2 separate regions of the Homo sapiens genome follow, and region 2 is linked to region 1. Evidence: promoter capture Hi-C in 16 types of primary human blood cells and fetal thymus (Javierre and others, 2016). All regions are on one chromosome and are shown on one strand. Each heading gives the region's core, a stretch centred on a gene start or on the middle of the fragment in contact. The rest is flanking DNA. Distances are from core to core; before and after follow the strand shown.

Region 1 (6,578 bases), core at 3,843-6,342:
CCCAACCTTAGGTGATCTGCCCACCTTAGCCTCCCAAAGTGCTGGGATTATAGGTGTGAGCCACTGCGCCTGGCTACTTCCTGTCTTTAGACTAAGTGGTAAACATGAAAAATCCAAATGGAAGTATCCAATAAGCAATTGTATACATGAGTCTAGAACTCAGGAGAAAGACCTGAGTTGAACACCTAGATTTTATGGTAAGCAACATATAAACAGTTTATTGTGGCCGGGCGCAGTGGCTCACACCTGTAATCCCAGCACTTTGGGAGGCCCAGGCGGGCGGATCATGAGGTCAGAAGATCGAGACCATCCTGGCTAACACGGTGAAACCCTGTGTCTACTGAAAATACAAAAAAAAAAAAAAAATTAGCTGGGCATGGTGGCAGGTGCCTGTAGTCCCAGCTACTCTGGAGGCTGAGGCAGGAGAATGGTGTGAACCCGGGAGGCGGAACTTGCAGTGAGCCGAGTGAGCCACTGCACTCTAGCCTAGGTGACAGAGGGAGACTCATCTCAAAACAAAACAAAACAAAACAGTTTATTGTAACTGTTGGTTTTGTAACTGTTCTCATTGTCGGATTATCTTGACCAATGAGAATGGGTAGAGAAGAAAGAGGTGGCTAAGGACATGACCATAGGGAACACCAGCATTTAGAGAGGTCAGAGAAGGCTAAGAAAGGTCATATTAGGCTGGGTGTGGTGGCTCACACCTGTAATCCCAACACTTTGGAGGCTGAGGTGGGCAGATCGCTTGAGGTCAGGAGTTCGAGACCAGCCTGGCCAACATGGCGAAACCCTGTCTCTACTAAAAATATAAAAATTAGCTGGGCGTGGTGGTGGGCGCCTGTAATCCCAGCTACTCGGGAGGCTGAGATGGAGAAGCGCTTGAACCCAGGAGGTGGAGGTTGCAGTGAGTGAGCCAAGATTATGCTACTGCACTCCAGCCTGGGGCGACAGAGTGAGTCTCTGTCTCAAAAAAAAAAAAAAAAGAAAAGAAAAGAAAAGAAAAGCCATATTAATAGAAGTGAAACTATCCATTCATTAAAAATACATATTTATTAAGCCCCTAGTCTTTGTTAAGAGAAAGAGGGACCTCAGGAGCCAAAAGAAGAAAGCATTTCAAGGAGGGGGGAGTCAACAGGTCAAATGGCACAGAGAGGGCAAAAGGATAAAGACTGAAGAGTTGTTCATTGAATGTGACCAGGAGGTCGTTGGTGGCCTTAATGAGAGCAATCTCAGTGGACTGATGGGGACAAAAACTAAAATGATTGAGAATGAGAATCATGAAAATGGATATAGCAAGTATAGGTAACTCTAGAAGCTTAGTTATGAAGGGAAGAGAAATCGAGTGATGACTGGGTGCAGACAAGGATCAAGAGAAAGTTTGGAATGTTTTCCTTTTAATCATGGGAATTACTTGAGCATGTGTATATGCTAAGGGGAAAATATCAGTAGAAAAGGACAGGTTAAGACTGGGAATGGTGGCTGACGCCGGTAATCCCAGCAGTTCGAGAGGCCGAGGCAGGAGAATCACTTGAGCCTAGGAGTTCAAGACCAGCCTGGGCAACACAATGAGACTCTGCCTCTATTTTTTTTTTAAGTTAATACTTTCTGTGTGCAGGCACTATGCTACAAGGAAAGGATACAGTGTTGAGCAAGATAGACAACCAGGGACTGCATACAACTTACAGTAAAGTCATAGGTGAACCTTCGACAGGTGATACGGATGGCATTCACTAGGATGAGAGAGACATGATGCAGGTAAGTATATCTGTAGGGAGCAAAAAGTTGGTGGAATTCTCACTTTATTATCTCTGTTTTCTCTGAAGACGGATGAGGGTTTTCCTGAGATGAACAAGGAAATGGTAAGGAAAGGAACTTGCAAAAAAAGGAGGAAGTTTGAAATATCTCCCTGGGGATTGGAAGAGAGTGCTTTTCCAATCCAATCTGTGGGACTGTGTGATTTCCTTTTTTTGAGATGGAGTCTCGCTCTGTTGCCCAGGCTGGAGTGCAGTGGTGCGATCTCGGCTCACTGCAAGCTCCGCCTCCTGGGTTCAAGCAATTCTCCTGCCTCAGCCTCCCCAGTAGTTGGGACTACAGGCGCACACCGCCACGCCCGGCTAATTCTTTTTATTTTAGTAGAGACGGGGTTTCACTGTTGTTGCCCAGGCTGGTCTCGAACTCCTGAGCTCAGGCAATCCACCCGCCTCAGCCTCCCAAAGTGCTAGGATTACAGGCCTGAGTCACTGCGCCCGGCCAGGACTGTGTGATTTTCTTCAAAACACTAAGGGAGTAGGAAGAGAGGTTTTTTATTTTTATTTTTATTTTTTTAAGAGTCTCCCTCTGTGTCACCCAGGCTGGAGTGCAGTGGCACGATCTTGGCTCACTGCAATCTCCTGTCACCTGAGTTCAAGCAATTCCCCTGCCTCAGCCTCCTGAGTAGCTGGGATTGCAGGTGCCCATCACCACACCCGGCTAATTTTTTTTTGTATTTTTAGCAGAGCTGGAGTTTCTCCATGTTGGCCAGGCTGGTCTCAGAACTCCTGACCTCAGGTGATCTGCCCACTTCGGCCTCCCAAAGTGCTGGGATTACAGGGGTGAGCCACCTCGCCCAGCCAAGAGAGTCATTTTGATTTGTCCTTCAAAATAGCTCTCAGATTCATGTATTTCTTTCTAAATCTGTTCCCATCACCCTTGTCTGATTGTCCCTCTCCCCTCACCTTTAAACCTTGTTTACTTGCTAGTAGGTCTCTGTCTTCTTGCTTAAAAAAATAAAAAAATACAAGTTGCACCCTTTTTCAAGAATTTAAAATGACGTCCTACTCCTGTCAGATGATTTTAACCAGCTCACCTAGTCATTCCAGGCCTTCTGTAATTTGTCTTCCCCTTTTCCCTCCCCTTGCTCCTAACTAGTGCCTTTCCCACACACCAGCCTCACAGGACCTTTTTTTTATCCATGCTGCAGGCTCCTTGCTAACCAAGTAAAAGCTTTTGCTGAAGCTGTGTCCCTCGGGAACATTTTCTTCTTTTGCACCAAGCCAACTCCCACCAAAGTTTTCCTGTCCTTCATGATAAAATGTATCCAGCATCTTTCTGTGCAGTCTTCGGAGAATATTTATTGTCTTCTTTGCACATTTGGAAATTTATGTTCAATGTAGCTTTTCTTTTGAGACTTGGTGTTGTCTTTTTAATAGTTTAGTACTATTAAATATTTAATATTTAGTACTGTCTTTTTAATAGTTTAGACTTTTTAATAGTTTAGTATGTGCAAATCTTATTTTAATTCAAATATATTATCATTTTCTTAAAGTCTGGAACCACAACCCACAGTGGATTGTGTAGTAGATTGTGTCTCAAGTAAGTGTTTAATACTTACTGGATTGAACTGAGATTTGAGCTGGGTCCTAAAACTTTAAATGAATTACACCTTAATCCCCACTCACTAATCTATTCCATAAGCATGTATCTGAGTACCTAAACCCTGTGCTAGGAGCTGAGGAGATTTCTTTTAACCTCTCAGTGCCTCTGTATTTTGAGGTGTCTTTCTCTGAAAATTTCTTTCCAGCCTTTAAAACAACCCCAACTGTCTGACAGTTTGTTGAATTGCCTTGGACCCAAGATCCCTCGGCCGTTAATTCTGTGTAGATATTGTCCCTGTTTATCTTCTTCTATTTTTTTTAGATCTGACTTTACTGAGTTACTGTTCATCTTACTGGTTCACCTGGCCTTAAATCTGTCTCTCTGTCTCTCTCTTTCTCTGTATGTGCGTGTGCACATGTGTGTGTATGTTTAGGTCTCTTGTGTACTCGCTGTGGGGCTTAGCCTAGTTGTTGATACTCCCCTCCCTGATCACAGTCCAGTTAAGGCTGGCCTAAAGTGGCAAACCCCTTCCCCCTCCTTTCCTCTAGTCCAGAGTCCAAGATGTGGGTAGAAGTGTTCAGTCAGATAAAACTATCTGAGAATGCCAGTGTCTCCCAGGCCACCCACTTTCCTGGAGAATTTTGAGAATGTCTTTTGTCCCAGCCCCACATAGAGAAGAATCCTACCAGGCAATACCAAGGTACCAAGCAATCCTGTCTGTAGTAGTTTATTCTTCCTCCTCACTGACATTCCCAGGGGCTTTATGAAGGGTGGGGAGGGAGAAGGGGCAGTTTTGCTGTTTGGAGGGATGTCACGGTCCTCTGAGGAAAGGTGGGACGTATGTCTGTGGGGCAGGAAGGCTGTGTGGGTTACTTTATCAAGTCTTAGCGTTGCTACTCTTTGTGCCTTTCTCTGAGTCAGTTAGTCTTGATTTCCACATCTGTTTTGGCTTCAGCCTCTCTCACCTGCCCTCTTCCATTACCCAACAGCCTGACTGCTAGCTAGTTCTTGCCATAGTGGCCCAAACTCATGCTGCTTTGTAGAGGTGGGAGGGGAGGAGATCATGGAAACAAGGGAAACCTCCTGCTGACACCTTCCTTTCCTTTCCCAGGCCTCCAGCCCCCACGCGCATGCTAGGCCTCCTTATCCGGGTCAGGACGAACCAGAGGAGGCCTACGGGGAGAAATAAGGAGACAGAGGGACAACGCATAGAGAGGAGCAACAGAGAGTTGGGGGCAGAGTCAGGGAGATGCGGGATGCGCCCTCGGGAGCAAGGTCGCCCAAGCCGTATAGGAGGGGAAGGGAGGACGGATCGCGCAGGCTCTGACAGCCCAGCCCAGCCCCGCGAGGCTCCCAGGTTTCCTGTCTGTTTCTCCTCCCAGCTCCTCTTCCTCTCTTGGGAAATTTCTCCCCAGAGCCTCTCCTGTGCCAGCCTGTCTCTGCTTCTGTATGTATTTCTTCCTCTGCCCGGTGTCGGCGACTGTCCGTGGGTCTCTCCATCTCGCGTCTGTCTCTGGTCTCCAGTTCAGCCTCCCGGCCTGGCCCTCTGGGTGGACGGTGCTCCTGGCGCCCCTCCCCGGGCAGCACTATTGGCGGAGAGGTGACGAGAAGGCGGTGTCTAGCCGCCCTCCGAGGGCGGGATTAGTCGCGGCGACCCAAAGGCGGGCAGGAGGTGGGCCCGGCTGGGAGGCGGGCGGGGCCACTGGGGCCGAGCCCAGAGCCCCGGGCGGTCGCATTGTTTTCCTCCGCGGATCCGCGGCTGGACTTGGACCCAGGGCTCTCCCGACAGCGCCCTGGAACCCAAATTCAAGCACCATCCAATTCGGACGCTCATCGCATCTCGCCTGAGCACAACCACGGATTGCGAACTCAGCGCAGCGCGTGGCCGCTGGCCGCCCGCGGCGATCTCGATCCCGCTGACCCGAATCCTGGAGCAAGTACCCCGGGCAGGGAAGGGGCTGCGGGGAGGCGGGGAGGGAGCAGGAGGGCGCGGCCGGCGGGGGGCAAGCTTCTGAAGCGCTAGGGGACCAGGGAGGTGTCGGCGCCCGGTGTGCCTGGCTGACGGAGAGGGTCAACGAAATTGGGGTGCAGGGAGGAAGGAGGGACAGTGGCCGAGCCCCGTAACTGTACTGGTGAGAGCAGAGTCTGGGCACCTCGTTCAATTGGGCTTTCGTCGAGTCGCATCCCGCTGGACTGGGAAGCGCGAAAAGGGATTATTTGAGGCGCGCTCCGTAGAGAGCGTGGAAAACCTGGCCCCTTGCTTTCCCAGCAAGGAAACTAGGGCTCCGAGACCCACGGAGAACTAGACCCTCCTGACGCCCCTGAAGGGATGGGAAGAGGGACGCATCGTTCCGGACTTTGTGTCACGGGTGCTCCTCTGTCCTTGTGCAAGCCGGAATCTGAGCACCCTCTGAAGGGTTGGCTCGTGCAAAGAGGCGGCGAATGGGGCCCTCGAGCAACATCGGTCCCAGCGCCTATCTCCTTCCTTCAGCCCGCTCGGCCCGGGGCTTTGTTAGACTGAGGTCTCCCAAGGAGGACATCCGAGCTGGCAACTGCCTCCTGAGCCCACGGTCCCCACTGAGCGCCGGCCTCAGGCCCGCCCTCGTCGGTTCTCAGCCTCTGGCCCTGTTTCCCTGGCCTGGGAGACCCGCCTCCGCTCCCCAACCCCCGCTCCTATCCCCTCTTCGTCTGCGCCTGCAGGCCCCTCCAGCCCCTCCTCTCGCTAACGTGGCTCTGGGACCCGGTCCCGGCCCAGACTCTGCTACCGGCCCCTCCTCGGAGCCCCGGATCCGGTGAGGGGGAGACAGGTCGAGCCCCTGGCCCTAGGCCCACCTCTTTTCGAGGCTTTAGACACCTGGATTGTCCTGGTTGGGGGTTGGGTGGGAAGGAGGGTAGGTGCTGAGTGTGGGGCTAAGAGCTAAGAGTGGGGGAAATGGCTTGGAGAAAGGAAAGCTCCGGTTCCACAGGCTCCTTGGCGCGACCCTGCTCCCTCTGAGGAAGGTGGACTGGGGCGGGCGACCAGCCCAAAGGCTTCCTGCTATTGTCCCCAGCCCAGTCTCCCCTTCTCCATCCCTTCCACAGCTCTCCTAGACTCTGGCTGTGACCCCAGCCATTCCCCAGAGGTGGCTTCGGGGCCAGGAGAGAGAAGGGCTGTTTCCTCTTCCCAGCAACGGGAGGATCTGGAAAGGGGAGAGTCGGCCAGGTCTCTCCCATGTGCTTCA
Region 2 (6,482 bases), core at 528-3,027, 120 kb after region 1:
AGCATAGGGGCAACCTAGACAATGGTAGAGTCATTAGAAATCCACACAGCTTTAAAAGAGCAGCACAGAGGGGAGAAGATTCAGGAACGTGGAAGAGGTACTTCTAATGGCCAAAGCACCCTTTTCTTACTGACAGGATTAGTAAGAGCCACTATTTACAAAGTGCTTACTCTGCTCCAGGAGTGTGCTTTACACATGATATTACGTTTAATGATCATAGCAGAATTAGCAGTAGGTACTATTATGCCATTTCCAGATGCAGAAGTCAACTGACTTGCCTTAGCTCAAAGAGTGAGTAAGAGGCAAACCTAGAACAGAAAAGCACATCTACCTGACTTTAAAAACTGCAGTTCTTGGCCAGGTGCAGTGGCTCAGGCTTGTAATTCCAGCACTTCGGAAGGCCAAGGCAGGTGGATCACTTGAGGTCAGGAGTTCGAGACCTGCCTGGCTAACATGGTGAAACCCCATCTCTACTAAAAATACAAAAATTAGTCAGGCATGGTGGCAGGCGCCTGTAGTCCCAGCTACAGGCTGAGGTGGGAGAACTGACTGAACCTGGGAGGTGGCGGTTGCAGTGAGCCAAGATCACACCACTGTACTCAAGCCTGGGCGACAGAGTGAGACTCCATCTTAAAAAACAAACAAACAGACAAAACTGCAGTTCTTTTCATAATGACGAACTACCTTACACTGAATGAAATCAGATTTGCTTCCTGGGGAGAAGGCAAAGGCAAAGGGGGGCGGGAAAGGACAGACATACCTTCTATGAGAGCAAAGGATTATCTGGCTGTATTCTGTCTTTAGCAGTCCTCACAGAGCCTAGGCAACCCTCAGAATCCCTGAACTGCCTTAAGCCCACCTTTTTTTTTTTTTTTTTTGGAGACGGAGTCTTGCTCTGTTGGCAGGATGGAGTACAGTGGCGCAATCTCGGCTCACTGCAACCTCTGCTTGCCGAGGTTCAAGAGATTCTCCTGCCTCAGCCTCCTGAGTAGCTGGGACTATAGGCACGCACCACCACGCCCAGCTAATTTCCGTATTTTTAAAAGAGATGGGGTTTCACCATGTTGGCCAGGATGGTCTTGATCTCTTGCTCTCGTGATCTGCCCGCCTCAGCTTCCCAAAGTGCTGGGATTACAGGTGTGAGCCACCGCACCCAGCCTTAAGCCCACTTTTAAATTCTTCCCTAGGCTAATCAGTAACCAGCAGAGGAACAGAAGGGGGAGGAAGTAGGAAAGATAGCCAAATCTGGATCTAGATCACTTCTTTACAGAGTTTGCACTATACAGAATAATTAATCCCTGCATAGTAAGTAGCAGAAAAGGTCTCTCGTATTTCTAATTTTCAAGGCAACAGCATAATTCCAGGGGTGAGGAATTAATGATTAAACCAAGAATAGAGTTTTTGTTTTTTTTTTTCCCCAACAGAGATGAGGTCTTGCTATCTTTGCCCAGGCTGGACTCAAACTTTCCAGCTCGGCTGGGCGCGGTGGCTCACGCCTGTAATCCCAGCACTTTGGGAGGCCAAGGCGGGCGGATCACGAGGTCAGGAGATCGAGACTATCCTGGCTAACACGGTGAAACCCCGTCTCTACTAAAAATACAAAAAATTAGCCGGGCGTGGTGGCGGGCGCCTGTAGTCCCAGCTACTCGGGAGGCTGAGGCAGGACAATGGCGTTAACCCAGGAGGCAGAGCTTGCAGTGAGCCGAGATTGTGCCACTGCACCCCAGCCTGGGCAACAGCACAAGACTGTCTCAAAAAAAAAAAAAAAAAAAAAACTTTCCAGCTTAAGCAATCCTTCTGCATCAGCCTCCCGAGTTGCTGGGACTACAGGCACGTGCCACTGTCCCTAGCTCAAGAAGGGAATTTTAACTCCGGATTTATAACATTTCCTTCTAACTAGATTTCGTTCTTTCAAAGTAGGAATTGAATCTCTAGTTCTCTTTGGAATTCCCCCTTTCTCAACAATGCTATGATTAAGGATGTTCATTAAAAAAAAAAAAAGGATATTCATATAGAGAGAGAATGGGAAAAAGCAGAAAGGGGAGGAAACAGGTCCAGAAACAGGTCAAGGGACCTCATGTAAGTACATTAATATAAGAACCTAAGAGAGGTCCTTATAGGACAGCTGTAGAGCACAGAGGTACATACAGGCAGACTCTGTAAGGCTCTTAGGTTGGAGAAGGGACACAGACTCACCGTTGTTTGGAGTGCCACATGGGGACAGAAAATAGCCAACTGCCGCACTGGCTCATTGTGAGTGTTGAAAAAGATAGTCATGGCAACCAGGACATCATAGCTGTGAGCCTGGCAGAAAGCATGGAGATCTGCAAGGAGGTTAGACCTCTGCAGAAAGGCCTGAAAGGGAAGAAACGGAGAGGGATGAAGGACTTTCTCATCATCATCAATAAAACATCCTTGGGCCGGGCACGGTCGCTTACGCCTATAATCCTAGCACTTTGGGAGGCCGAGGCAGGTGATCACTTGAGGTCAGGAGTTCGAGACCAGCCTAGCCAACATGGTGAAACCCTGTCTCTGGTAAAAATACAAAAATTAGCCGGGCATGGGGGCATATGCCTGTAATCCCAGCTACTCAGGAGGCTGAGGCAGGAGAATCGCTTGAACCAGGGAGGCGGAAGTTGCAGTGAGCTGAGATTGCGCCATTGCACTCCAGCCTGGGGGACAAGAGCGAAACTCCGTCTCAAAAAACAAAAACAAAACAAAACAAAACAAAAAATTAGCTGGGCATGCCGGCACGCACCAGTAATCCCAGCTACTAGGGAGGCTGAGGCAGGAGAATTACTTGAACCCGGGAGGCAGAGGTTGCAGTGAGCTGAGATCATGCCATTCCACTCCATCCTGGGCAACAGAATAAGACTCAGGCTCAAAACAAACAAACAAACAAACATACATACATAACTGCTAGAGGTTTTTTGAGCATAGGAGATAGTACTTCAGTTAGGGTGGTCAGGAAAAACCTCCCAAAACAAGAGACATCTGAGCTGAGTACCTGAATGTTAAGAAGGAGCCAGCTTTACAAAGAAAAAAGCTCAGCTGGGAATGAGCTTAATGGTTCTGAGGAACAGAAAAGAAACCAGTGTGGCTGCAGTACTGTAGAACAGGAGTGGAGCTGGAATGAGATGAGGCCAGAGAAAAAGACAAGGGCCAGATCAAGCATGGCGCTGTAAACCACAGTAAGTCCTTTAGATTTTATTAAAAATACAATGAGGCCGGGCACAGTGGCTCACGCCTATAATCCCAGAACTTCGGAGGCCAAAAGGAGAACTGCTTGAGGCCAGGAGTTTGAGACCAGCCTGGGCAACATAGTGAGACCCCATCGACACATACATACACGCGCGCGCACACACACACACACACACACACACACACACACACTAGTTAGGTGTGGTGGTGTGCACCTGTGGACCCAGCTACTCGAGAGGCTAAGGTGGGAGGATTGCTTGAGCCTGGAAGGTTGAGGCTGCAGTGAGCCATGATGGTACCACTGTACTCTAGCCTGGCAACAAAGCATGACTCCCTTAAAAAAAAAAAAAAAAAATTAAAAAAGACCACTCTGGCTGCTGCGGGGAGAATGGTTTGTAGGGCTGCAAAAGCAGAGGCAGGGACACCAGTACTGAGGCTAATACAGCGGTGCAGTGAGAGATGCTGGACTCTGGTGGTCACAGTGGAGGTAGAGACAAAGATAGACACAAGATACATTTTGGAGGTGAGCCAGGAATGAGGTGCAAGGCCACATGCATAACATGCATAGCTAAAGGCTTTCTCTCCCCACCCACAGCCACAACTTGCTCTTACCTCCAAATCCATATATATTGCACTAATGGCCACCTTGACGCCTTGTCTATAGATAGTCTTCTGGTCTTTTCTCAGCATCTGCTCAGTGGTCAGTCCTAGAAAGCAGATGAGAGACTAGGGGTCAAACAGGGTAGGCCAGGGTCCCAAGACCAAGAAGGCAAGGACAGCCAGATGGGTCAAGGAAGGAAAAACAGCCTCTCTTTGGGGCAATGAATGGGGGAGATAATTGAAAATGTAATCATAGCCGGGCGCGGTGACTCAGGCCTGTAATCCCAGCACTTTGGGAGGCTGAGGTGGGCGGATCACCTGAGGTCAGGAGTTTGGGACCAGCCTGGTCAACATGATGAAACTCTGTCTCTACTAAAAATACAAAGAATTAGCTGGGTGTGGTGGCGGGCACTTGTAATCCCAGCTACTCAGGAGGCTGAAGCAGGAGAATCACTTGAACCTGGACTCTGTCTCAAAAAAAAAAAAAAAAAAGAAAGAAAGAAAATGTAATCACATAATCAAAAGCCATCTTAAATAACTGGTGACAATAGGTACCTTTAGAGCAAGTAACTTTGGAGAGAAGGATGAAACCCAGAACAGAGGCTTTTACTTTTTATCTTTCCCTCTTCCTATACTGTTTACATGTGAGTTCTTTCTTTCTTTCTTCCTTTTTATGTCAACAGGTGGTAGCTGAGTACAAGAATACAGTTTTTTTTGGGTTCTCTTCATCTTTTGTTTACTCACAAAATATTTCTTTTGCCTCCCTAACCAATTCTATAGATTTCACTCTGATAATTTAGTATACTCTCAGCATATTTTATATATATGTCCTGTATTCTCTGAATAGACTGGAACCTATGAGGCTCTTTTTGTTTTTTTTTGAGACGGAGTTTCGCTGTCGTTGCCCAAGCTGGAGTACAATGGCGCAATCTCGGCTCACTGCAACCTCCACTTCCCGGGTTCAAGCGATTTTCCTGCCTCAGCCTCCTGAGTAGATGGGATTACAGGCACACACCACCACGCTCAGCTAATTTTTCGTATTTTTAGTAGAAACGGAGTTTCACCATGTTAGCTAGGCTGGTCTTGAACTCCTGACCTCAGGTGATCTGCCCACCTCGGCCTCCCAAAGTGTTGGGATTACAGGCGTGAGCCACTGCGTCTGGCCCTTCTGAGGCTCTTAATACATTCCTCCTCATCCTAACCAAGAGCCAGGATAGAACAATCCAGTAAATGACTGATTATTTCATGCTTAGGCTAATATGGTACTTCATTTCTTTCTGGTATAAAATTTAAATAATTGGCCAGGCGCGGTGGCTCATGCCTGTAATCCCAGCACTTTGGGAGGCCCAGGCGGGCAGATCACCTGAGCTTCAGAGTTCAAGACCAGCCTGGTCAACATGGTGAAACCCGATCTTTACTAAAAATACCAAAATTAGCTGGGCGTGGTGGTGGGCGCCTGTAATCCCAGCTACTCGGGAGGCTGAGGCAGGAGAATCGCTTGAACCCAGGAGGTCGAGGTTGCAGTGTGCCAAGATTGTGCCACTGCACTCTAGCCTGGGTGGCAGAGCAAGACTCTGTCTCAAAAAAAAAAAAATAATATAATGAACAAGGCTTGCCTTTCTGTTTTCTTATCTGGGAGGCAGAAAAGTCAGCTAACATTTCATACCTGATACATCAAACTTTGCCTTTTGTAGGGAATCAAATATATCATTTCTCTTGGGTAGGTCTGGGAAAAGGGCCTCTAGTTTCTCCACATATTTGCTGTCCTTTGGGGTTGCCTTTCCAATTTTAAGGTCCATGTTGACACAGTCCAGGATGATGGTTCCTGTGGAGAAGGGAGATGGTGGAACTTGAATCCTGTGACCCTTCACACACAACCACCAGAACATATATAACCTTCACACCAAATGGACACACACAAGGAGATTTGTATAGCAAAATCTCTGAAAGCAAAATGAGAAACTGGGATGGACAGTGTCCTCAGACCTCCCAAATCCAAACTAAAATGTAGGAAGGGAAATGGGGAAAAGGTAGAAAGAAAGCCTGAGCATCTCAAACCTTGGAGATTTTACAGCCTAGTCAGACAGAGATACACCTCTTCAGTAGGCCAAATCCCATCAAAGAATCTTCTAAGTTGGAAAAGACAGTCTAGTCCAACTCACTCTCTCTCTCTTTTTTTTTACAAGTGGAAAAATGAGAACAAGAAAGGTTAAGAGATTTGCTCAAGGTCACCTATTTCCTGGAGGAATTGGTATTGGAATCTGTTTCCTGCTTCTTTAGCTAATCCTCCTTCCATCATAAAATGATGCCAATAGGAAGCTTCTTGGTCTGTTGCCCTGCACTTCCTTTCTACTTTCTCCAACAAGTATCCCACAGGCCTTTAAACACATGCTCAATTGTCCCCTGAAAGAATCCTATCTTTTGGTATGAGCTGAATGGCTCTGAGAGCATATGGTTAGGCTGGAAGCGTCTAGACTTTTCCACCCTCCCTTCTCAGGGACAGGAATAGAACTACTGAGGTCCCAATCCAAAAGCCACCCTTACCATGCAGAAGGGCTGCAGTTTGCCTGTCCAAGATCTCTGGTGCCCCCTGCAGGATTCTCTCGGTCACCAGGGTAGCACAGGACCCCACCAGCTCAACTGAAACATGGCAGGGAGGGCAGTGTTTCGGCTCGATGGGT

What was found. The method cuts DNA at HindIII sites, captures the fragments that hold promoters and counts their contacts. A CHiCAGO score of 5 or more calls a contact.
Region 2: a contact is called between a fragment that was not itself captured here and the fragment with the promoter of SEMA6C in region 1, in 4 of 17 cell types (naive CD4 T cells, total CD4 T cells, total CD8 T cells and 1 more). The highest score is 6.0, in naive CD4 T cells.

Annotation. Positions count from the first base shown.
Region 1 is chr1:151,145,145-151,151,722 of GRCh38, reverse strand. It overlaps SEMA6C (semaphorin 6C), which reads left to right and starts at 5,092. Exons shown (of 19, transcript NM_030913.6): 1 at 5,092-5,290. It also overlaps a transcript of LYSMD1 not described here. RefSeq lists silencers at 4,615-4,674, 4,885-5,344. The HindIII fragment of the contact is 2,380 bases long and covers 2,988-5,367 here.
Region 2 is chr1:151,024,659-151,031,140 of GRCh38, reverse strand. It overlaps PRUNE1 (prune exopolyphosphatase 1), which reads right to left. Exons shown (of 8, transcript NM_021222.3): 4 at 6,346-6,482; 5 at 5,468-5,626; 6 at 3,814-3,908; 7 at 2,197-2,355. Among named protein-coding and RNA genes, the nearest start is that of BNIPL, 8.7 kb to the left of the region's middle. The HindIII fragment of the contact is 8,691 bases long and covers 1-6,122 here.